7 separate regions of the Homo sapiens genome follow, and all the other regions are linked to region 7. The links are contacts of gene promoters, found by promoter capture Hi-C in blood cells and fetal thymus (Javierre and others, 2016). All regions are on one chromosome and are shown on one strand. The core of a region is centred on a gene start or on the middle of the fragment in contact, and the rest is flanking DNA. Distances in the headings are between cores, read along the strand shown. Region 1 overlaps HEATR5A (HEAT repeat containing 5A). Region 2 overlaps HEATR5A-DT (HEATR5A divergent transcript). Region 3 overlaps HEATR5A (HEAT repeat containing 5A). Region 4 overlaps HEATR5A (HEAT repeat containing 5A). Region 5 holds the start of DTD2 (D-aminoacyl-tRNA deacylase 2). Region 6 overlaps HEATR5A (HEAT repeat containing 5A). Region 7 holds the start of AP4S1 (adaptor related protein complex 4 subunit sigma 1).

What was found. The method cuts DNA at HindIII sites, captures the fragments that hold promoters and counts their contacts. A CHiCAGO score of 5 or more calls a contact.
Region 1: a contact is called between a fragment that was not itself captured here and the fragment with the promoter of AP4S1 in region 7, in 4 of 17 cell types (non-activated CD4 T cells, neutrophils, M0 macrophages and 1 more). The highest score is 7.1, in non-activated CD4 T cells.
Region 2: a fragment that was not itself captured here is called in contact with the fragment with the promoter of AP4S1 in region 7 in 1 of 17 cell types (neutrophils); the score reaches 5.9 in neutrophils.
Region 3: a contact is called between a fragment that was not itself captured here and the fragment with the promoter of AP4S1 in region 7, in 1 of 17 cell types (neutrophils). The highest score is 8.0, in neutrophils.
Region 4: a fragment that was not itself captured here is called in contact with the fragment with the promoter of AP4S1 in region 7 in 3 of 17 cell types (non-activated CD4 T cells, naive CD8 T cells and M1 macrophages); the score reaches 6.2 in non-activated CD4 T cells.
Region 5: a fragment that was not itself captured here is called in contact with the fragment with the promoter of AP4S1 in region 7 in 2 of 17 cell types (naive CD8 T cells and neutrophils); the score reaches 5.5 in naive CD8 T cells.
Region 6: a contact is called between a fragment that was not itself captured here and the fragment with the promoter of AP4S1 in region 7, in 1 of 17 cell types (naive CD8 T cells). The highest score is 5.1, in naive CD8 T cells.

What each region holds. Positions count from the first base shown.
Region 1 is chr14:31,379,396-31,382,891 of GRCh38, reverse strand. HEATR5A (HEAT repeat containing 5A) reads left to right here. Exons shown (of 36, transcript NM_015473.4): 11 at 2,314-2,425. Among named protein-coding and RNA genes, the nearest start is that of HEATR5A, 39 kb to the left of the region's middle. The HindIII fragment of the contact is 5,231 bases long and covers 1-3,496 here.
Region 2 is chr14:31,438,595-31,441,955 of GRCh38, reverse strand. All of the region lies in intron 2 of HEATR5A-DT (HEATR5A divergent transcript), which reads right to left. Among named protein-coding and RNA genes, the nearest start is that of DTD2, 17 kb to the left of the region's middle. The HindIII fragment of the contact is 2,993 bases long and covers 1-2,971 here.
Region 3 is chr14:31,398,477-31,401,999 of GRCh38, reverse strand. It overlaps HEATR5A (HEAT repeat containing 5A), which reads left to right. Exons shown (of 36, transcript NM_015473.4): 3 at 1,488-1,699; 4 at 3,219-3,327. Among named protein-coding and RNA genes, the nearest start is that of HEATR5A, 20 kb to the left of the region's middle. The HindIII fragment of the contact is 2,024 bases long and covers 562-2,585 here.
Region 4 is chr14:31,325,626-31,329,045 of GRCh38, reverse strand. It overlaps HEATR5A (HEAT repeat containing 5A), which reads left to right. Exons shown (of 36, transcript NM_015473.4): 23 at 2,704-2,883. Among named protein-coding and RNA genes, the nearest start is that of HEATR5A, 93 kb to the left of the region's middle. The HindIII fragment of the contact is 1,459 bases long and covers 1,396-2,854 here.
Region 5 is chr14:31,456,706-31,460,264 of GRCh38, reverse strand. DTD2 (D-aminoacyl-tRNA deacylase 2) reads left to right here and starts at 2,759. Exons shown (of 3, transcript NM_080664.3): 1 at 2,759-2,982. The coding sequence starts at 2,872. RefSeq lists enhancers at 2,595-2,774, 2,915-3,124, 2,569-3,154, 3,155-3,559. The HindIII fragment of the contact is 1,929 bases long and covers 616-2,544 here.
Region 6 is chr14:31,345,304-31,348,624 of GRCh38, reverse strand. It overlaps HEATR5A (HEAT repeat containing 5A), which reads left to right. Exons shown (of 36, transcript NM_015473.4): 19 at 718-877. Among named protein-coding and RNA genes, the nearest start is that of HEATR5A, 74 kb to the left of the region's middle. The HindIII fragment of the contact is 235 bases long and covers 1,941-2,175 here.
Region 7 is chr14:31,023,440-31,026,898 of GRCh38, reverse strand. AP4S1 (adaptor related protein complex 4 subunit sigma 1) reads right to left here and starts at 1,250. Exons shown (of 6, transcript NM_001128126.3): 1 at 1,112-1,250. STRN3 (striatin 3) reads left to right here and starts at 520. Exons shown (of 18, transcript NM_001083893.2): 1 at 520-995. The coding sequence starts at 714. RefSeq lists enhancers at 22-181, 1,292-1,401, 1,472-1,571 and silencers at 312-631, 722-981, 1,121-1,302. The HindIII fragment of the contact is 24,948 bases long and covers 1,186-3,459 here.

The DNA.
Region 1 (3,496 bases), core at 923-3,422, 360 kb before region 7:
GGAATACTATGTTCATTTTAAAAAGAGGTAACTTAAGGGGCTCCCACTGATCAAAGATGGCATGATTTATACATCAAAATTAATAATGACTACAGTGAATTAAAACATACTAGATAATATATAAAATTTCATGAGTTCATAATGATATTCAACTTCTCCAAATTGTATTGCTACCAAAAAATGTCATTTTCTGAGTAAATTTAGAATCAGACAAATAAATGACACAAACCTAGTGAATAAATAACCCAGTTTTAATGTACAAAGAATTTTGAAGAGAACTAAAGAAAAATTTTAATGAAACCTAGATAATACAACATAGGCAAGCAAGGTGTTTGAATTTTGTTTCTTTTTTAATAGCTAGGAATTGTAAGTTGTCAGAGAACATTATTTGACAGTGAAAGCCCTTCTAACCCATACTTCTCACAAACTCGTAAATATATTTAAAAAAATACACCATTATTCCTTTCTTTCTCATTGCCACTCCTGTGTCATTATGGAGTTTGATAGTATATCCACCATAGTGTAGGCTCTGCAGAAGACCATTCCATAACTTGAACAATTCCAAAAATATTTTGAGTATTGCCAATGCCACTGAAATAAGGTAGGTGACAACTTTGGAAGATGAGATTATTTAAATTTATTATTTTAGTTATATTCTTAACACATCACATCTTGCTAAGCAAAGACTTGTCATTCAATGTATTTAATTAAACCTATTCTCATATCTCATTAATTCAGACAAGGTTCCCATTCCCATATTATATTTGGAATTTCTTTCCGAGAGAATTATCCACTTGTTCTGATTTGACTAGAATGGTTTGTTTTGTCCTCACTCTTTTTGAGTGCTATCCATTGACTGTATGAGCTGCAGGGAGTCCTAAATTAGTAGTAAGTTGGTTGGTTGGTTTAAAATACACTAGCCTTCTTCTTTAGAAAATTTATATGCCAACTCATAATACTTCCTGCTTTTTCAGAGGTGATTGGTAATAGGTGTTTTCTCATATTAGATGCTCTCTGGCCTTGTACTGTGTAAGCATACATTATCCATAAATGTGAAATGTCCTGTTTTTCTTCTCTGTTGTTTTATAACATGGACCCCTTTTTTTGAAACAGGGTCTTGCTTTGTCACCTAGGCCAGAGTGCAGTGGCGAGATCATAGATCACTGCAGCCTCAAATGCCAGGGCTCAAGCAATCTTCCCGTCTCAGCCTCCCAAGTGGCTGAAACTACAGGCACGTAATTCCATTGCCTGGCTAATTCTTTTTATTTTTTTGTGAAGATAGGATCTCACTCTGTTGCCCAGGCTGGTCCTTTTTTTTTTTTTTTTTTTTTTTCCAAGGAGACATGGTCTTTCTTTATTGCCCAGGCTGCAATGCAGTGGTGTGATCCTAGCTCACTCCTAGGCTGGTCTTGAATTTCTGGCCTCAATTGGTCCTCCCACCTTGGCCTTCTGAGTCGTTGGGATTACAGGCATGAGCCACTGTGCCCAGCCTCATAGACTTTTTTACTATAACATTTTAATAAATTTCACTCTTCAGTATGAGACTATTTTGACTACCTCTAACCACTATAGTATACTACCTCTTGGAAGACTATTATCAGCTACTGAGTTACAAAAGTAGTATGTAGCTTTTTTTTGTTGTTGAGACTGAGTCTCACTCTGTTGCCCAGGCTGGAGTTTCAGTGGCATAATCTCAGCTCACTACAACCTCTGCCTCCTGGGTTCAAGCGATTCTTCTGCCTCAGCCTCCCGAGTAGCTGGGACTACAGGCATGTGCCACCACGCCCGGCTAATTTTTTGTATTTTTAGTAGAGATGGGGTTTCACTGTGCTAGCCAGGATGGTCTCGATCTCCTGACTTTGTGATCCACCCGCCTCAGCCTCCCAAAGTGCTGGGATTACAGGCGTGAGCCACCGCACCTGGCTGTATGTAGCATTTTTAAGAGAGAGACTCCTGTAAGAAAACTTTTTTTGGATAATTATGGATTTAAAAGGATAGTTGCTCAAAACTAAAAGTAAATTCAAATTCTATACAGCTATACTTGAATAATCTTACATTGTTGTCACATGTGTTCTACAAAAAATTATGGGATTGTTGTGTACTACCTCATATACCAGTATTTAACCTTGAAAACTTAATTTTTTATAGTTTCCTTTATGACAGTCCTATTATGTAGTCTACACGAATGACAGTTCTTTATCGTTTACATTTATTTTATGTAAGAATTAATTTTTCAAGATATTGTTAGCTGCTATCATTTAGTAATTTATAAACTGATATGCTTTTTTTAAAACTTGTTCTATATGTAAATAGATTATTATGACATTAGCAGAGGATTTGCTGTGTTCTGCTGCTCAAAACAGTCGCCTTTCAGCTCAGCGCACACAAGCTGGATGGTTGCTGATTTCTGCTCTGATGACATTAGGTAACAGTCTGTAGAAGGTTTACATACCTTGAAATACTTTGTGTTTTCTGAGTGAAATGATTCTTATATGTGATTTGATGAAATGAACTTTTAATACATACCAGAATTTAAATAGCCACACAAACATTTTTCTTGTAGTAGTCACCTTAAAAAGCCTTTTACTTTCGTCATTGCTTAAAACCTTTTGAGATCTCTCTTGATTTTCTCTTCCGGGCTAGATGATAAGCCTCAAGTAGGATAAGCCGAGTTACTAATCATCTTTCAGGCTTAACTCTGAACAACTGTGGCTTTTTCAAAAATCATTGACATCCATCTTCAGAAAAAAACATTTCCACAATATAGGCAAAAGAACATACCCATAGCTTGGGAATCCAGTTCTATAATTGTTTGAGGATTCATAACAGCCAATAAGGTTGCTACATTGAAGGGGATGAATTTTACTTAAATTATATTTATTAAAAAACAGTAATTGTTTTACAGTCATGACTATTTATATCCTCTAAATTTTTGAGACAGGGTCTCACTCTGTCACACGAGCTGGAGTGCAGTGGCATGATCATGGCTCACTGCAGCCTTGACCTCCTGGGCCCAAGTGATCCTCCTACCTAAGCCTCCCAAGTAGCTGGGACCATAGGCATGCAACATCATGCCTGGCTAATTTAAAAAAATTTTTTTTGTAGAGATGGGGTCTCACTATGTTGCCCAGGCTCGTCTCGAACTTGTGGGCTCAAGCAGTCCTTCCGCCTTGGCCTCCCAAAGTGTTGGCATTATAAGCATGAGCCACTGAAAACTTTATTTATTTATTTTTTGCCCAGTCTTATGGTGCTAATGAAACTTAATTTTATTACTCTATCACACCTATATTTTAAGTCTCTGTTGTCATACAAGTTATAGCTAGATATAAAACAACTGGCTGAGGCTGGGCATGGTGGCTCACGCTTGTAATCCCCGCACTTTGGGAGGCTGAGGCGGGTGGATCACTTGAGGTCAGGAGTTCAAGATCAGCCTGGCCAACAAGGTGAAACCCCATCTCTACTAAAATACAAAAATTAGCCGGGCATGGTGGTGCAT
Region 2 (3,361 bases), core at 226-2,725, 410 kb before region 7:
TCAGCCTTTTATCTGAATGTGAAAAGAAGAATTTATGTGGAGAATGCACCACACCCTGTATAACAGTATCTGAGAACCATTAGCTATTATTGCCATAAACATTTGAGGTTGGGAAAGTAATTGTGGGCTTTTTTTTTGTTTTAAGGGAAGGTATGGAGTTTTTTTAGAAAATGTCTGATCATACTAGCGAAAATGTAACCCTTGGCTCCAACTTTGAGAGACTGTTTACTTCAACCTTGTACTAATGTAGATAGGCTAAGGCACACTTTCTATTCCTGGCATTCTTCTGATTTCCTTAGCAGCCCCAAGGTATGTCTATGAGCAAACATGACCATCTTTTAAGTTTAGTTTGCTCAATGCCTGCATTATTTTTTCTTCTGATTACATTCTGAAAGTCCTCGGGGCTTTTATTTCTTTTTTTTTTTTTTCTTTTGAGACACATTTCACTGTCGCCCAGGCTGGAGTGATCTTGGTGCGATCTTGGCGCGATCTTGGCTTACTGCAACCTCTGCCTCTGGGCTTCAAGCGATTCTCCTGCCTAAGCCTCCCAAGTAGCTGGGATTACAGGTGACTACCACCATGCCTGGCTAATTTGGTTTTTTTTGCTTTTTGTTTTTTTGAGACAGAGTCTTGCTCTGTTGCCTAGGCTGGAGTGCAATGGTGTGATCTTGGCTCACTGCAACCTCCGCCTCCCACGTTCAAGTGATTCTCCTGCCTTAGCCTCCTGAGTAGCTGGGATTGCAGGCACTGGCCACCACGCCTGGCTAATTTTTTATTTTTTTAGTAGAGATGGGGTTTCACCATTTTGGACAGGCTGGTCTCAAACTCCTGACCTCGTGATCTGCCCACCTTGGCCTCCCAAAGTGCTGGGATTACAGGTATGAGCCACTGCGCCTGGCCTAATTTTGTATTTTTTTGTAGACACGGGGTTTCTTTTTTTTTTTTTTTTATTGCTATACTTTAAGTTCTAGGGTACATGTGCACAACGTGCAGGTTTGTTACATATGTATACATGTGCCATGTTGGTGTGCTGCACCCGTTAACTTGTCATTTACATTAGGTATATCTTCTAATGCTATCCCTTCCCCTCCCCACACCCCACGACAGGCCCCGGTGTGTGATGTTCCCCATCCTGAGACATGGGGTTTCACCATGTTGACCAGGCTGGTCTCGAACTCCGGACCTCAAGTGATCCACCCACCTCAGCCTCGAAAGTTTTGGGATTACAAGCGTGAGCCACCCCACCCAGCCACAGGGCTTTTACTTCTTTTCATTATATACATATTTGCCTTTTAAAACCCATATGTTGAAAATCTAACATTTGCTTAATACTGCATAATGGATACTTGCTTTCCACTTAAATGTTGTGGTCTTTATAATCTGCAGGTCAGCAGTGTAGCTAGGGGCTGTGTGAAATGTTTAAGATATGATCACTAGCCCCAAGGAATTTACCATCTAGTAGGGGACACATTAGCCACAAAAATGCACTAGGTAGTATGTGGTCTCTGATGTCTGGACAATGCTATCAGTGAGTTTTATTAATAAAATAGCTGCAGAAGGAGAAGACACTTTTGGCTAGGGTAGTGAATCTTCATTTAAAAATGTATTGCTGGCCAGGTGTGGTAATCCCAGCACTTTGGGAGGCCAAGGCAGGAGGATCACTTGAGCCCAGGAGTTCAAGACCAGCCTGGGCAATACAGTGAGACCTTGTCTCAACAAAACAAACAAAAAACTGTGTCTTTTATTTTTCTGTGTGTGAGTTTATGATCTTTGTTTTCTTTATTTCTTATAAAATAAGCGAGAGATATGAACATCAATCATTATAAAAAGCAATCAGAAAAGCCACAAGGTTTAGACTGGGAGAGAAGATAGTCACAGTTCCCGTGAGATTTACACCATATTAAATAGACTTTGATAAGATTGTGTTTTAGTCTTGGATATATCCAAAACTGGATCTTTTAAATTAGAAGGAATTGGTTAGACTTTAATTAGACGAACTGAAAAAATGTTTAGGTTTGTGTTCATTTGAACCAGTTTCTTTTAATTCAACTAGTTTGTGAGTTGTTCATCAAAATAACCACATTCTTGTATCTCTTGAGTTTTCATTTGGTTTTTAAAGGCTGAACCAAAAAGCGTCAGGGTTTTCACACAGCCTTTTGCCATTTCATAGCTCCATGTTTCCTTGGTGATTCTAGTGTTCATAGTCTGCCAGGTCCACTTGGAGCTGTTGCCACTCTGCATTCCTCTTCCATTGTTGGTAATATCCTTTTTTTTCTTCTTATTTCTGTAAAGAAAGTGACTTATTTTCTCAGGGTTCTGAGTTGGCAGAAGTTACTGCAAGTATTAAATCTCCGTTCAATAGTGAAAGAGAAATATCTGATAATCTTTAAGCAATGATTAAATTTTGTGTCCTCAATCACGTTGGTGTTAGATTGCTTTTTTTTGCTTTATAAATCTGCGCTGAATTTTTGTTTCAAGATGTTTTCAGAATATTGTTTAAAATGTTACTCAGTACACTTGCTATCATCTCATAAATAATAGTGAGTGCCCATATGCTTCAACAAGGTTTTTTTTTAAAAAATCCCTTTCCCCCCAGTGGTGATATAAATTTGCTATTTCCTAGACTTTTCTGAAAATTTTATCGGCATGTTCTATTTTACTGAGGTCTTATGACCAGAAAGTGTTCATCACTATATGGCCCACAGATTTGTGTTTATCCTAAAATATGTATAGGATTATCATGATACCATATTAATTCCCATATTTTCCCCTTATGTTTTAATTTAGAAACAGGAAAGAGAAATTTTGCAAGCATTTCAATACTGAACCACTGCTACTCAGTTTGATAAATATTTGCAATTATTACTAGATTTAATGAGTGAGATACTTGCTACCTTGTATGTGTAAAGCACTGGTAGGCATTATAACCAAACAGGTAAGTATACTGCGCAGTGACCATCATTAAGAAGCTTACAACAGTGATTTACACAATAATCAATGGAAAAAAATTTGGACTTTAGCTCCCTCACACTCAGAATTAAAAAGGCATAGTTTCTTCAACAAGAATTTATTTAGAGTCTACTTGTATACCAAGTATACAAGTAGATACAAAAACAAGAGATACAAAGATAAAACATATTTCCCTCCTTTTGGGCCTCATATCAGTATATTTCAGGAGACAGATTAAGGCAAGGGATATAGATTTGGAAGTTAGCTGCACATATGGTAGTTAAAGTCACCAAAGTTAACTATGGTGCTTCCTCAAAATACTAATAGAACTACTATATGATCCAGCAATTTCACTTCTGGGTATATAAACAAAAGAATTGAAAGCAGATATTTGCATACCCATGTTCATTGC
Region 3 (3,523 bases), core at 324-2,823, 370 kb before region 7:
TCTATACACTGACAAATATTTTATTGTGGAATTTTAGGCCTCATTGAGCACCTGAATACCATTAGCTTTATAATGATACTGTGTACTCTTTATTCAGATAGCAGACAAGGAAAATGGAATAATGTTATTAACATTTATATACGTAAGCTTGCAAAAAGAAAATTGCCCTACACTTAGGAATAGACCTGAATAAAACAGGTAGCCATTACAAGGTCAGCTCTGGTTATAGATTATAGTTTACTGCTTTATGCAGCTATATATGAGGGAGGTGTAGGATTAGTAACTCAGATGCTGTAGTTGAAAATACAAATTTGGACATGGTGATGCATGCTTATAGACCAAGTTACATGGTAGGCTGAAGCAGGAGGATTGCTTGAGCCCAGGAATTTGAGGCTGTAGTGTAGCACTATAATTGCTCCTATGAATAGCCATTGCACTCTACCCCAGGCAACATAGTATGACCTTGTGTATTAGTCCGTTCTCACACTGCTATAAAGAACTACCTGAGACTGGGTAATTTATGAAGAAGAAAGGTTTAATTAATGCACAGATATGCAAGCTTAACAGGCATGAGTGGGAGGCCTCAGGAAACTTAAACAGTCATGGGAGAAGGCGAAGGGAAAGTGAGGACCTTCTTCACATCATGGCAGGAAGGGTTGCGGGGAAGTGTCACACACTTTTAAACCATCAGATCTTGTGAGAACTCACTCACTGTCACAAGAACAGCATGGGTGAAATCCACCCCCTTGATCTAATCACCTCCTAGCAGGCCCCTCCCCTGAAACATGGGAATTACCATTCAGCATGAGATTTGGGTGGGGATGCAGAGCCAAACCATTTCACATTGTCTCTATTAAAAATAATAATACGCGGTGGCTAACGCCTGTAATCCCAGCACTTTGGGAGGCCGAGGTGGGTGGATCATAAGGTCAGGAGATCGAGACCATCCTGGCTAACACCGTGAAACCCTGTCTGTACTGAAAATACAAAAAATTAGCCGGGCATGGTGGCGGGCGCCTGTAGTCCCAGCTACTCGGGAGGCTGAGCCAGGAGAATGGCGTGAACCCAGGAGGCGGAGCTTGCAGTGACCGGAGATCGGGCCACTGCACTCCAGCCTGGGCGACAGAGCGAGACTCCATCTCAAAAAAAAAAAAACAATAATAATAATAATACAAATTTGCTCTGCCTTTCAAACAAAAGAAGAAAGATTTCGAATACATAGAGCCCTTATATTTGTTAACAGAGATTGCAGTGTAATGTGGTTCGGAATTTTTGGAGGGCTTTTTTATTATTAGCAGGGCAGCAAACTACCTGATTAGTCTGGCATAATGACCACACTACCAACTTATTTGTAACTTCCAGTCAAAGTAAGTTTGTATTTTTCTAGAGCCTTTTTAGTTCTTAAATATATGAAAGAAAAATTATATTAGGGGATTACAGATAATTATATTGACTTTGAATTGTCTTTGTGTTATCTTTCTTTCTAGAATGATGTAAGGGAGAAACAGAAGACTCTTGTTGAACAGCTCCTGTCTTTGTTGAACAGCTCCCCAGGGCCTCCTACCCGCAAACTGCTTGCTAAGAATCTAGCCATACTTTATAGTATTGGAGACACATTCTCCGTTCATGAAGCAATCGATAAATGTAATGATCTTATTCGTAGCAAAGATGATTCTCCAAGTTATCTTCCCACTAAGCTGTAAGTGAAACATTAAAACAGAACAGAAAACAAAATATTGCTTCCTGTTGTATTTTTATGAAGTACCCATAGTACTTGACATTTACTTTGAAACTGAATGCAAACTCAGTTTTACTCATTTTCAAAATCTAACTTAAAAAAGAAACTAACACTTTTCATGTTAGTTGCTGAGAAACAATTCTACAAATACTTTAGACGTATTTGAAGTCTAGATTTGAGATTCAAAACATCTTCCTAAAATTTTAGCAGTTGAGTGTTTAAGAAAGATATTTTAAATTCTTCACATTTTTGGATGCTTTTATAATTTATTCATTCTTGGTTATGAAAATTGATAGTAAATATCATGTAGAAAAGTATTTGCTAAGATCCTAAAAAGAACAGCTTAGTTTCTCTATAGGATTTAGTTCATTTTATCACCTATTATCTTTAAAAAGGCAATGAGCCATGTAATATTTCTTTTTTTTCCTGTTTTTTGAGACAGAATCTCTGTCCACCCAGGCTGGAGTACAGTGGCGTGATCTCGACTCACTGCAACCTCTGCCTCCTGGGTTCGAGCGATTCCCCTGTCTTAGCCTCCCAAGTAGCTGGGACTACAGGCACATGGCACCACTTCGAGCTAATTTTTGTATTTTTAGTAGATACGGGGTTTCACCATGTTGGCCAGGCTGGTCTCAAACTCCTAACCTCAAGTGATCCACCCACCTTGGCCTCCCAAAGTATTGGGATTACAGGCATGAGCCATTGCACCTGGCCACCATGTCATAATTCTATAAAGTTTTTGTTGGTCTCATTTTTACCTTATAACAGAATGTATTCCCCCATAAAGTTTTCAGATTTCAAACTTGATGAGAACATTATTTCTTGTTTTTATTTTTATCTTTAAGCTTATCTTTTTGTTATCTAATATGTAGCTGAGTTCTGTTGAAATATTTTGTAGAATTTTGTAACAAACTTGAGGGTGTGTAATCTTTGGGCTGAATAGTAGAGTAATCACAGATTGATACATCCTTATTATTGAAAGTATAATCATATTCACCTAAGTGTCGTGCCTTAGGATTTAACCACAGAATAGATTCTTAGAAATTTTATCCTTTCAAAGCAAAATTTAAAATAGTCACTTTTTCAACAAATGATGCCAGTATAACTGTATGTCCACATGCAAAAGAATGAATTTGGACTCTTCTGTTACACCATGTATAAAAAATTAACTCAAAATTGATCATAGATGTAAGTGTAACAGCTATTACTGTAAAACTCATAGGAAAAAACATAGGGGTAAATCTTTGTGACCTTGGCTTTGGCAGTGTTTCTTAGACACAGCACCAAAAAGCACAACTGACAAAAAATAGATGAGACTTCATCACAATTAAATATGTTTGTGTTTCAAAGGATAATACAAAGAAAGTAAAAAGACAAGAGAATGGGGGATATTTTTCAACAGTTATCCTTACATATCCTAAGATCTTTTTATTCCTATTTTTTCAGCTGTGACTAATTTCTAATTTAAATGTTGTTTCAGTGCTGCTGTGGTATGTTTGGGTTCCTTGTACAAGAAGTTGGGTAGAATACTGGGTAACACCTTTACTGATACAGTGGGGAATATTCTTAAAGCTATGAAGAGTGCAGAGGTAAGTAATTACAAGTTCAGCCAAAGAATGAAAAGACAGCATTTTATTGGTTTATGCTTTCCTGAGCAAATCAAAGAGCTTTACATATGTCAAGCATATGTAGATATGAATATAAATGTACCCATAAATTAATATTTCTAGGTGATGCACTGTATGTACTCTGTATATTGAATCCCAGTTAGAAAAATAGTAATGC
Region 4 (3,420 bases), core at 876-3,375, 300 kb before region 7:
AAGGGGCTCTTCCCCCTTTGCCTCCTTCACATGCTCTCTTTTGCTTGCTGCCATGTAAGACATGCGTCTTCCCCTTCCACCATGATTGTATGTTTCCTGAGGCTTCCCCAATCATGTGGAACTGTGAGTCAATGAAACCTCTTTTTTTTTTTTTTCCTTTTCTTTCAAGACAGAGTCTCACTCCGTCTCCCAGGCTGGAGTGCAATGGTGCAACCTTGGCCTACTGCAAGCTCCGCCTCCTGGGTTCAAGCGATTCTCCTGCCTCAGCTGCCCAAGTAGCTAGGATTACAGGCACCTGCCACCATGCCTGGCTAATTTTTTGTATTTTTAGTGAGATGGGGTTTCACCATGTTGGCCAGGCTAGTCTCAAACTCCTGACCTCAGGTGATCCACCTGCCTCAGCCTCCCAAAGTGCTGGGATTATGGGCGTGAGCCACTGTGCCTGGACTGAAACCTCTTTTTTAAATAAATTACCCAGTCTTGGGTATGTCTTTATAGCAGTATGAAAATGGACTAATGCAAAGGACATACCCATACATGATCACACACCTAAGAAAATCAATATTGATTTGCAGCCCTCACACACATTTCCCTAGTCATCCAAAAAATGTCCTTTATGATTCCTCTCCCCTCACTGCCACCTAAATCTAAGATCCAGTCATGACTCACATTACCTTAGCTATTATATCTTGTTAGATCCCTAATCTGAAACATTTCTATCACCTCCTTCTAATATTTAAAAGATAATTTCTCTTTTAAAATAGTCTAGTACCAACAAAACAAAACACCCACAAAGGCCAGGCACAGTGGCTAACTCCTACAATCCCAACACTTTGGGAGGCTGAGGCGGGTGGATCTGAGGTCAGGAGTTCGAGACCAGCCTGGCCAACATGGTGAAACCTCGTCTCTACAAGGTAATAAAAAAAAAAATTAGCTGGGCATGGTAGCACATGCCTGTAATCCCAGCTACTGGAGAGGCTGAGGCAGGAGAATCGCTTGAACTCAGGAGGCAGAGATTGCAGTGAGATTGTGCCACTGTACTCCAACCTGGGCGACAGAGCGAGACTCTGTCTCCAAAACAATAAATAAATAGAATAGTCTACTAATAATATAACCTTTCAAATCTACATGCTTTCATAAATGCTAGATGAGTTAACTCTTCAAGAGAAAATGTATTTGTCCTTTTGGCATTTTCAGAATTAAAGGTAATAGTAGATGCTAGATCAAGGCTAGTATTTCCCCTTTGAGGTATTACTTTGTAGTGAGAATATTGTATAGTGATATATGTTTATTCAGTAGTCCACAATAGCTTAGTTGTAGTAATTAAACAGTGTTCTCCATATAGTGTTTGTTTTCTGTTTGAGCTTTACTCTCACGTTAATATATTTTAAAGCTTTATACCAGAATAAGGAAAACTTAATTATGTTTTTTTAAAACTAGAAAATAATTATACTGGGCCAGGCGTGGTGGCTCATGCCTATAATCCTAGCACTTTGGGAGGCCTAGGCATGTGGATCACCTAAGGTCAGGAGTTCGGGACCAGCCTGGCCACTGTTGAAACCCGTCTCTACTAAAAATACAAAAATTAGCAGGGCGTGGTGGTGGTCGCCTCTAGTCCCAGCTACTCAGCAGGCTGAGACAGGAGAATTGCTTGAACTCAGGAGGCGGAGGTTGCAGTGAGCCAAGATTATGCCACTGCACTCCAGCCTGGGCAACAGAGCAAGACTCGGTCTCAAAAAAAAAAAAAAAAAAAAAAAAAGTGCCACTGGAGGCTGGGCACTGTGGCTCAACGCCTATAATCCCAGCACTTTGGGAGGTTAAGGTGGGTGGATCACTTGAGGTCAGGAGTTCAAGACCAGCCTGACCAACATGGTGAAACCCCGTCTCTACTAAAAATACAAAAATTAGCCAGACATGGTGGCAGGCACCTGTAGTCCCAGCTACTTAGGAGACTGAGGCAGGAGAACCAATTCAACCCGGGAGGCAGAGGTTGCAGTGAGCCGAGATTGCACCACTTCACTCCATCTTGGGTGACAGAGTGAGACTCTGTCTCAAAAGGAAAAAAAAAAAATTAAGCACTGAATAAAATTTGTAAGTATTGAGCTGGGTTCAGTGGCTCACACCTGTAATCTCAGCACTTTGGGAGGCTGAGATGGGTGGATCGCCTCAGGTCAGGAATTTGAGACCAGCCTGGGCAACGTAGTGAAACCCCATCTCTACTAAAAATAAAAAAAAATTAGCTGGGCGTGGTGGCGGGTGCCTGTAATTCTAGCTACTAGGGAGGCTGAGGCAGGAGAATTGCTTGAACCTGGGAGGCGGAGGTTGCAGTGAGCCAAGATCGTGCCATTGCACTCTAGCCTGGGCAACAAGAGTGAAATTCTGTCTCGAATAAAGAAAAAAAAATTTTGTAAGTATTGGACACTAATTGGGTAAAACTTTTTACCTGATTAAGAAAACATATTAATAATAACATATGAATACTTTTTTTCAGTGACATTACATAAAATACTGCTATATAGGATCATAAATCCCAAAATTCAAGTGTGAACTAAAATGGATCTCAGTAGATTAAAGCACAGTATTTGGGCTAGTTCTTTAAGATGTATTTTTATCTACTATTTGAATAACTACTGAATGTGTGAGCTTCTGATATGGTAGTTTTGTTTTCTGTATTACTTAGATAATTGATTTTCTTCTTGTCAGATGCTAACATCAGAGAAGTTGGCCTTGAGGGGGCATTGTTGATCTTACTAGACAAGGAGACAGATGAGAGATTATGCCATGATATCAAAGAGACTTTAAATTATATGCTTACATCTATGGCAGTGGAAAAACTCTCCCTGTGGTTAAAGCTTTGTAAAGATGTACTTGCTGCATCAGCTGGTAAGTATTGGACATTATCAGTTAAAATAATAAAATTGAAATTTGAAACTTTACATAAAATTGTTTACCACTGAGAATTCATCAGTCTTGTCTAACTAGCTGGATTCTGACTGTCTGATTGTTGCTTTTCTTCAAATGAAGATTGTATTTCTAGTGTTTTAGAATTCTCTGTAATTTGAACAATATAAATCCAATACTTAAGCCTGCTCTTTTTCCCTTTGGCTGTCTTAGATGACTTTCCTATATAAAACAAATTAAAAAGTAAAGTTATTGTTTATGCCCTAAAAGGTGTGACTTGATGTATATTGTTCCCATCATTTCTTTTCATACATACAACAAATATTTGAGACCAGGTGTGGTGGCTTACCCCTATAATCCCAGCACTTTGGGAGGCTGAGGCAGGCAGATTGCTCAAGTCCAGGAGTTTGAGACCAGCCTGGGCAACGTGGCAAAACACCATCTCTACAAAAAAAAATTTTTTTTTTAATTAGCTGGGCCTGGTGGCTCACACCTGTAGTCCCAGCTGCTCGGGAAGCT
Region 5 (3,559 bases), core at 331-2,830, 430 kb before region 7:
TTATTTTTTTTTTCAAAAAAAAATAAATCTCTGGGCTTTAAACTAGAAAAAAAAATATCTGGGCTTTAAACTAGAGGGCTAGATACTGTCTTCCCTAAGATAAGATACCTACCTCTTCCAGTTGCACTTGTTTTTTTTTGGTTTTTTTTTGTTTTGTTTTGTTTTGGTTTTTTTTTGAGACGGAGTCTCGCTCTGTTGCCCAGGCTGGAGTGCAGTGGCGCAGTCTCGGCTCACTGCAAGTTCTGCCTCCTGGGTTCATGCCATTTTCCTGCCTCAGCCTCCCGAGTAGCTGGTACTACAGGTGCCCGCCACCACGCCTGGCTAATTTTTTGTATTTTTTAGTAGAGACTAAAAATGGTTTCACCGTGTTAGCCAGGATGGTCTCCATCTCCTGACCTCGTGATCCACCCACCTCAGCCTCCCAAAGTGCTGGGATTACAGGCATCAGCCACCTCGCCAGGCCTGCACTTGTATTTATTAACATATCCTATATAAAGTCTCAGGTAAGAGGCTCAGCTGAGAGCTAAATCTGAGGAAAAGCTCTGCTTATCCCTAGAACTATGAAATAGATTATACTGCCCTTCCCTATCCTCTCCTATTTACAACCAGGAAGCTTAGCATCAACTCTAAGGAATCTTTTAGAAATGGTTCTCAAACTTTTCATGTTTGTGAAATACTTTGAATGCCAGAATTTAGGGCAGCCAACTTAAATGAATTAAAGAAGGTAAAATAACACTAAATTAGTTATTGTACCATCTCAGAGGACATAGAACCCATCCACAATTAATCCCCTATCCATATGGTACACTTTCAGCATTGTAGGTGTTTGAGAATTATCTCTGCTCAATGATTTCTCATACAATGACAAGGCAAAGCTCTCTCACATTCCAGTGAACCACCATCTTCTTGTAAAGCCAACTTAATGCTATGCTTTGCCTTTAGTTCCAACTTGAAACAAATTGTACAACCTACAGCACCTCAATACTACATACAATGAACATAATTGTTTTATAACAAAAATTAAAGTTATACATTTGTGAAAATTTTGCTGCATACTATATCATCTCAGCACTCCAGTTGAGAACCACTGTCTTACCTGTTTTCAATTTCCCCCATTGTGGCTTACTGACATAATTCTAGTTTCTTTATTTCTAATGCTTTAATTCACATTTTACTATTTTATTGCATGCATGTCCTTCCTTCTTAAATTATTTGCAGAATGAAACTAAGTGTTCAAAAAATAAAATACAGAAAGGAAATGCTGTCTTTGGTGGCCACTCTCTATAGCCTTCTGCAAATAGAAGTAAAAAATAAGTGAGCCACAGCCTATTACAGTACCTACAGCAATGTCCACGAGATCCTCACTCAATAGGAGGGTTTAAAGTAATTAGTGATTTTTGAGAAGCTAACCATTACCATCCATACTCCATCTATTCTACTCACAGGAAGGGTTTCCCAATTTGTTAAAGAAACCCTCTCTGTAGAAAGATCTCTGCGAACCACATAACCTATTCTCTATAGACCTCCCTATTTCCTGCAGCCACATACAAATGGACACCAAAGTCTTTTCTTATTCTGGGACATAGCTAATGGTTTGTATGTCAAAGTTTCTTTCAGGCCTGTAAAATCTGAATCTGAGAGCCGGAGAGAAAAGAGACTCAGTAGTTATAATGACATAAAGGTGCAGACATGAAGCAATTCAACTTGTCTGTGCTTTGCAGACAAATGTCAACAACTGTTGGAATCCCTGCAATGCAACAATCAGAGATCATGTGAGATTTTGCTTTCTGTTTTTACTAAAAGTGTAAACCTGGCTGCAAGATAACCAGCAAACAAGCAGCTTCGATTTTGTGTACAAAGGACTGTTGATTATGCATGGACTATTTTCTTCAGTCACACTACTTTGTATGGATAGCAACACTGTCAGTGATGTCATCTTTTTAAACAACAGATCCGAATGTATAGGCACATTGTGTCAACTGAGCCCAAATCAATGACCTGGGTAATGCAATCAGGGTAACACTATTATTCCTCATCTAAACCATCCAAGCCCATAGACAAATAAATGCTAATCTGATGCATGTTTAAGGAATACGTTACATGGGAAAGAAAATCAAGCCCTTGTTTAGTTTTATTTACATTCTAATATGTACTTCCAGAAAATGCATCACAGAATTTACGTCATATGCATCAGAATAAGCTGTTTTATTTTTGTATTAGTAGCGGGCTAAGTTATTAACAATCATACTTTCTTGGATAAGAACATTTTTAACAAGGATATCTTCTAAAGAATGTGTATTCGTATAGCATACCAATACCTTTTCACAACTGTGGAATCAGAATAATTTATGGCATTCCCGATAGAGGAGGCAGCATTGTTTTTATTGATTGGAATAAGGAAAATTTTGAAGGATGTATATATAGCTTTTAGTTCCATCTCCGCTTGCTTTATGATTCGATTATTTGTTTACTTACTTTCATATGGGCATAACATGAATTTAAATCAAGCAGATTTAAAATTTTTCAACAGTTGGAACCTAAGCTTTCTGAGGTGAAAAATGTTTCTTAAAAGGTTTGTAGGAAAGAGATTTAACGAGTCTTTTCAATCGTTTAATAAAAGTATACACTGAGCGCCTTCTACAGAGTTGGGCAGGTGCTGCCGAGAAGCTTAGCGCTACGCCGGCCTCCAAGACCGCACATCCGGGACATTCGAGAGTCAGTCCGAGGCCCCGCCCTCCTAAGGGCGGGGCCACTGGGCAATCGGCGCAGGCCCTTCGTCGTGCCCCGCCTCGTCTGCCCCGCCAGCGCGTCGAGGGAGGGGCCAGCGACACATGGCCTAGTAACTGTCCGGCCGCGGCGCTGGCTTAAGCCATGGCTGAGGGTAGCCGGATTCCTCAGGCCCGGGCGCTCCTACAGCAGTGCCTGCACGCCCGGCTGCAAATTCGCCCAGCCGATGGGGACGTCGCGGCCCAGTGGGTGGAGGTAACGTCAGCCCGGCAGCTCTCGTTATCCTCCGGCGTGCGGGGCGGTTTTTTCCGCGTTGTCTCGGTGACTCGTCCGCTCTGTGTCTCCCTCTGAGACCGGCGGTCCGGCCGCGGGGATACCGGGTCAGCTTGAAGCTGGCCGCGGTGGCCTGCCTGGCTGCGCTTGTCTTTTCGGTCCAGCATCACCGTTCCCCAGCGCCAGTTGTAGCACCCGAGAGGAAGAGCGTGTCTCCCTTCTTGGGGGGACCACAGGTATTTGAAACTGAGTTCGGTGAACTTCAGGCCTTACTGTCTCAGACCCCTTGCAGCTCGTGGTCTATGCTGGTCGGGGGCAAGCTTGTAGGTCAGGTTTGCTGCAAGAGTTCATGATCTGCTTTGACTTACGCCTCAGATCGCGTCGAATTCCCCCCTATGTTGACTTGGTCTTAGCATAGAAATGAGATTTCCTAAGAAACAATTCTATTTCAAGAAGCCTTTTAAAAGTTTTGACCAATTTCCAACTGAGAAACAAAGACCTCTACTTTTATAACAATGTTGCCTTATCAAACACATTTCTCCAAAGAATTTAAAACATT
Region 6 (3,321 bases), core at 809-3,308, 320 kb before region 7:
AATAAACATTAACTTCTCTTGTATTTAATTTTATTTATTTTCGATACAACGTCTTGCTCTGTCACCCAGGTTGGAGTACAGTGGTGTGATTGTGGCTCACTGCAGCCTCGAACTCCTGGACTCCAGCAATACTCCAGCCTCAGCCTCCCGAGTGACTGGGACTACAGGCTTGTGACACTACGCCCAGTTAATTAAAACAATTTTTTTTTTTAGTAGAGACAGGGTCTCATTATGTTGTCCAGGCTGATCTCAAACTCCTGGGTTGAAGTGATCCTCCCGCCTTGGCCTCCCAAAGTGCTGAGAGTACAGGCGTGAGCTACCACACCTAGCCTATTTAATTTTAACATCAAAATTAAGTTGAAACTCTATGAAATTAAAGTATCTCAGCATTTGAGTTTTTAAAATGTAACTTAATGATAAAGTAATAATAATGCTTATCTTAAAAACCTTCTTCATGTATATATATGAAAGACATTGAAACTGCTCATACTAAACTAATCATTAATAATATGAGGACATTTTGATTCAAAATGTTTTCCTTTGCAAGATGCCTTTCGGTTACTTCAGAAGTTTTTATTAGTTAGCCAAAAATGTATTTCTAAATTTTGCAACTATCCATATAAAAAGTTTTGCCTAAGTGACAGTGTACATGCATTAGTTTTTGTGTTTTTTTTCTTTTGCAGTGATTACCGTTTATTTTTATTTTTATATTTACAGATTGAAATCAGCAAGGGATGTGGTTACCAGAACAGGACACTCATTGGCCTTGGGGTCCCTACATAGGTATTTAGGAGGAATAAGTTCTTCTCAACACCTAAATTCTTGTATTGGAATCCTTTATACTTTGGCGCAGGACAGCACTTCTCCTGATGTGCAGGTGGGTACCTCATGTGATACTTCCCTTGAAATTCATGATTTTTAGATGATGCAGATTGTGTTTATATTGAACATTAATAATTTATGAATATAGTTTCCTCCCATAGTAATTGTGGAAGCCGTTGTTAACCTTGGTGGATTTTTAAAATTAAAATCTTCCCCCACACTCAGAGTCTGAAGTCAATTTCAGTGTGTTTTTCTGAAAATGTATCTCTGTTCCATCTTAATGATAGCTTTGGGCTAGAAGTGGTGGCTCACGCACATACTCTCACACTTCAGGATGCCGAGGCAGGCAGATTGCTTGAGCTCAGGAGTTCAAGACCAGTCTGGGCAACATGGTAAAACACTGTCTCTACAAAAGATACAAAAATTAGCCGGGCATGATGGTATGCATCTGTGGTCTCAGCTACTCAGGAGGCTGAGGTGGGAGGATGGCTTGAGCCGGGGAGACAGAGGTTGCCATAAGTCCAGATTGTGCCACTATGCTCCAGCCTAGGCAACAGAGCCAGACCCTATCTCAAAAATAATAATAATAGTAATAAATAATAATAACAGCATCTACTATTTTAAAGAGCTTAATAGGTACCAGGTGTTACGATACATTCTTCTAAGTCTCATAGTAATTCTTTTAGTCCTTGTAATAATTTATTAGGGTGTATATAGCCCATTATGGGGAAATAAAACTGAGGCTTAAGAAGCTAAGCAACTTGCTCACAACTGAAAAGCTAATAAATCATGGAATCAGATCAAGAACACAAGTCATAGACTCCAAACTCCTGTTCTTAACCACTTTACCATATCGTTGTACATATCTTACCTATTTCTGTCAGTAAAATCATCATTCTCCTATCTTAATCAAATATGGAATGATTTTTATTTCTCCCGTTCTTTTACTCCCCTTCTGTCGTCTTATCTGTCTCCCTTATTAATGTGTGCCAAATTACTGTCATAGCCTCCTAATTCGTCACATTTTTAGGTCCTTTTCTTTCGAACTCTCTCTAGATATAAGGCTAAATTCGTTTTCCTAAAAGATTTTCATCTTGCCACTTTCCTGCAGAAAAGCTTGACAAAGTGCTTATTGCTTCTTGAATCAACTTCTTTATTCCAGTCCCATCAACTGACCCCACAGATGTTTTCTGTTACTACCTCAAAGTGTTGACTTCTACAGATGATTTATCCACATGTCATTCTCATGTCTACATTTACCTTTTCTTTTTCTCTTCTCTCCTTACATGCCTATTTGATATTCCACATCTTTTAGTCTTTTAAGATCCAGTATAACCACCATCTCACCAAGCTTTAATCCAGTTAGCTTTCCCCCTCTGAATTACCATATTACTACTCGCCTCCTCCACTTCATCTAGTACTTGACTGAATTGACTTACAAGGTTTCCATTTTTCACCCGTCTTTATATATAGTACTTTTTGCTTCTATTATATTCTTCTTCTCTCTCTTCAAGAAGTCTATTCTGAATGTACCTAGTTGTATATTGAATACCTTTTTTGTTGATTAATTCATATACTTTCTGTGGCTGTCAGTGTCATTTCTGAATTTTCTTGATTGCTCTCTCTCACCTAACAAATAGGAGCTCATTTTTGCAGCATTTAAAGTACTGTAAGCTTTCTTATACATCCATTGATAAGAGGAATAAAACTTTTTCAGTTCATTTTCTGAAGAGAGAGCTTTTAATTTACTTCTTGTTATAGAACATTAAAACGTACACAAAATTAGAAAGTATACTGCAATGAATCTATTATACTCATCACCTAACTTCAGTGGTTATCAGTATATGACCAGTCTTTTTTCATTTAAACCATTGTGTGTGTGTGTGTGCGTGTGTGCATGTGTGTGCGCACCTGCCATAAATGCACATATCTATGTACAAACAGTACATTATGTAACCACCTCCCGAAATCAAGAAACAGTCCATTATCAATACCCCATACACACTTCTCATACTGTCTTCTAGTTAACTACCTGCCCCCACCAAGGATAACCACTATCCTAATTTGCAACAGCATAAATTAGTTTTGCTTGCTTCTATACTTTATGTAAATGGAATCATACAACATATATTCTTTTATGTCTGGTTTTCTTCACTCAACATTATGTTCAAGAGATTTGTCCATATTGTTGAATGTAATTGTAGATTTTGTTGAATCTTTTTAAAAACTTGAATTTTCATTCTTTCTATAGATTAAACAATAAACAATTTTTCAACAAACTAGATTTGATTCAAACTGTTAGCTGAAGTACCAACTATTACTTGCAATTCTTAATGATGAACTATATCATTCTAAATTGGATGATTGCCTCTGAGTTGGAAGTCCTCCATTTCTCTTTCCACATGAGTAGTAGCATTCACATTTGCTGTTACTTTATCACTTGCTTCAACAAAAGAACAAGTTAATTTATTTTATGTTTCTTAATGCTGCTGTAATGTT
Region 7 (3,459 bases), core at 1-2,500:
GGGCCCACCCTTGGGACTGCCTGAAACACTCAAAGAATGAAAAAGAAACGTCAGGAATCCGAGACGGGATGCGGTCGGCCAGAGCGACCAGCCAGGTTAACAACCAGCTCAGAAAGCCGGGACACGGGTGAGAGACCCCTGGGAAGGAAACAGCGCCCGGGGACGGCCTGCTAAAAGGAAACTGATAACCAGGAAGCCTAAGGCCGCCTCGCTTCCAAAAGTCAGAGTCGGAGCCCAGGTGTCCGGTAGCTGCGGCCAGACACCGGATCGGGTCTGAGGGCGGGCCTAGGGGCGGAGCCCGAGCTCTTTCCCCGCCCTCTAACGGCGACCCGGGCTGCGTTCTCAGTGCGCCGGCGTAGGGTGAGGCCGGACTCTATTTGGCGATTAAGCGTGAGGCTGCGTTCGCTACCCAGCATGCTGTGCGCTAGTGACGGCCCTCCGCCTATCCCCTTCCCAACTCTCCCCCCACCCCTCCCGCCGAGGCCCCCCCTTCCCCTAAAGTGAGTGAGTGAGACGGGCAGATGGAGGAGGGATTGTAATGGCGGCAGCCGGCAGCTCCCTGCTCTGACCCACGGCAGGCACACAGCAACGACCCCTTCCCCGCCCCTCTCCCGGCCGGCCTCCGCCCCGCAGCCAGCGCGGGGCCACCCTCTCCGGCCCTTCCCCCAGCTGTCGGCGTCTCGCCCTGCGCCCCGGCCGGGGCCCCACACACAATGGACGAGCTTGCCGGAGGCGGTGGTGGCGGCCCGGGGATGGCGGCCCCTCCCCGGCAGCAGCAGGGACCTGGGGGGAACCTGGGCCTTTCGCCCGGGGGGAACGGAGCGGCGGGCGGCGGGGGTCCTCCGGCCTCCGAGGGAGCGGGTCCCGCGGCAGGCCCCGAGCTGTCCCGGCCGCAGCAGTACACTATCCCGGGGATACTGCACTACATCCAGCACGAGTGGGCTCGGTTCGAGATGGAGCGGGCGCACTGGGAGGTGGAACGGGCCGAACTGCAGGTACCTCGTTGGGGTCGGTGTGCGGGAGCTGCGGCGGCTGGGTTCCCGGCCGGGGGGTGGGGCTGGGGACTCCACTCAGCCGGAGCCGGCGCCTTGGGAGGCCGAGCGGAACCTACCTGTGCTGCTCAGGTTGTGATGGTCCTCTCAACGGCTTTTCCTGGAGTCCCCCTCCCTCTTTCCCGCATAAGCTTGCTCCCCAACCTTCACTGGCTACGCGGTGCGGGCCTCCTCGGGGCAGCCATTTTGGCTTTTAGTATGGCGTCTGCGGGGGCTCCTCCGGAGGCGGCCTTCCCGGGCCTCCGGGGCTTGGGACCGAGCACCTCTCTGTGGGAGAGTCCGGTTTGGGGCCTCTCAACACTGAGTTTGCTCTTGTTTGTTCCTCTTGAGATGAAGAGCCCGAAGAGAGGGACTAGGATAGGCATCTTACCCCCCTTTTCCGGACCACCCCCCTTTCCGATTTGGCGTATCTGGCCCCCTCCCTCAGACTTGGTACGCGCTTGCCCCTTGACAGCCACGCTTCTTTCCTGGGCTGCTAGGGTGCACAGTGACTTGGGACTGACCTGTGAAGTTTTATTTCCCATCGTCAACTTTAAGTACTTTCTCACCTGAGATGCTGCCTTACTCACTTGGATTCTCTGTAGTTATTCCTTACTTAGTGACTCATCAACGCTTTCAGCACTGAATTTTTCTTTTTACAGTACTCTCCACTAGATCTCCTTTCCCCCATCCGTTTCTTTATCTATAAAAAAACCAAACCAGACGATCGATGCTGTATTTATGAAACGACTGAAGAGATTTAATATTCCCTTGAAGTGAAACGTAGTTATATCATGTTACTTACTCTTGCAGGAGAAGCAAAGTGAGATGTTCTCGGAACCCTTCATAGTTGAGCTTGACTCGATCCTCATAATGTGAACCTTTGATAGGCTGCACATTTGGAAGCTGTTGGTAGTTAACAGCTCATGTCCTGGATCTCAAAATTGCTGCATCTTTTTGAAAGGGTTATTTAACTTTCTTGGGTATTTGTGTTTATTTTTAAATACCTTTCCAGGGCAAATTTAGGCTTAGAAGGAAAAAGCGTGTGTCTAAATAGTATTGCACCTGTTCTTCAGACTGTTGTGTATTTAGGGGGTAAGCAGTATTTGCTGTCATATATGTCATATGCCTATGGTGAATCGTTAGGCAAATGTAGTGCTGAAAGGAGGAGGATTGGATTAACTAGAAAGGGTGTCCTCAAATATGCATCTCTTTAGTTTGGTTCTGAACTAGTAAACTTTTATATGACTCCACAAAGTGGGTGAAGTTAAACTTTTCAAAAGTAAAAAATACTTGGGTATTTTGACACTGTATGAAGTCTTAAAAAAAAGTAACACTTGTTAGTCATTTCAGTGCTTTACAATTGTGTTTTGATATAATATTGGGCTTTAAAATTACATAACTTTAAAAAAGCTGAAGTCAAAACTGGTTTAAGTTGTGTACAGTCTGCTTTAACATACTTAAAATTTATAGAATTCTGTTGGTATACAGCTTTCTACTACATACTGCAAACTTAATTTTCTGTGTGAGTAAAGTAAGTAAGGCATTTGTTTTTAAAATTTGGATTGACAAATGCAGTAAGGCCTAAGCTCACTAAATAATACTTCACCAGTCCCTGCTATGGTTTCTTAGACCTTTGTACTGTTGTATGCAAGTTTGGATTTCAACACTCTTCAAGTTAGCAATTGCATTTTTCACCCATAAACTTCACTAATGTAAGCAGCTGAGAAGAAAGATATCTTGTGCCCAAATTAGTAAAACCTATACTATATATTAAAGAAGCCTTTATTGCCTGCTCTAGCATTTGCTTTCCCTTCTAGGTCTCCTTAACAGCAGCAGCAGTGTTTTAAGGTAGATTCCTTTTGCTTGCTTGCTTGCTTTCAATTCTATTGGTACAGTACTGTTATTAGCCATCCTAAGTTTTTGTTTGTTTCCTTGTTTTGAAGAAGTCCTACAGTGTTTCTAGACTCTTTTTTATTTCATACTGATTCTTTTGGAATAAAATGTTCATGATGGCGTTGGTTTTTTTTTTTTTGAGTTATATATTTAAAATGTTTTATTGGGTTAACTTAATAAGGTTTCTAGTTTGCTTTAGGTGCCTTCAGTCTACTGAGATTGCTTGTGAGATGCGTATTTTAAAATGTATGTGTTGAATACATATTTGTGGGAGGGTGTAGTGAAGCATCAGTGGATTTTTACTGTAAACTTAAACCTATTTTTAAGAAAGACAATCTAGAAATAAGACAACTTACATATTATTATGTACAGTCTCCAGTGCACTGTCATGTACACAGATTTTTAAAGTGTTAATTATTGAATAGTTTCAATAGAGAACGTGAAGAGCTTAAGGAATACCCCATATTGATGTAAAATTTTAATGGGGAATAATATTTTCCCTGGCTTTGGGAAAGATATTAAAAGGAACTTT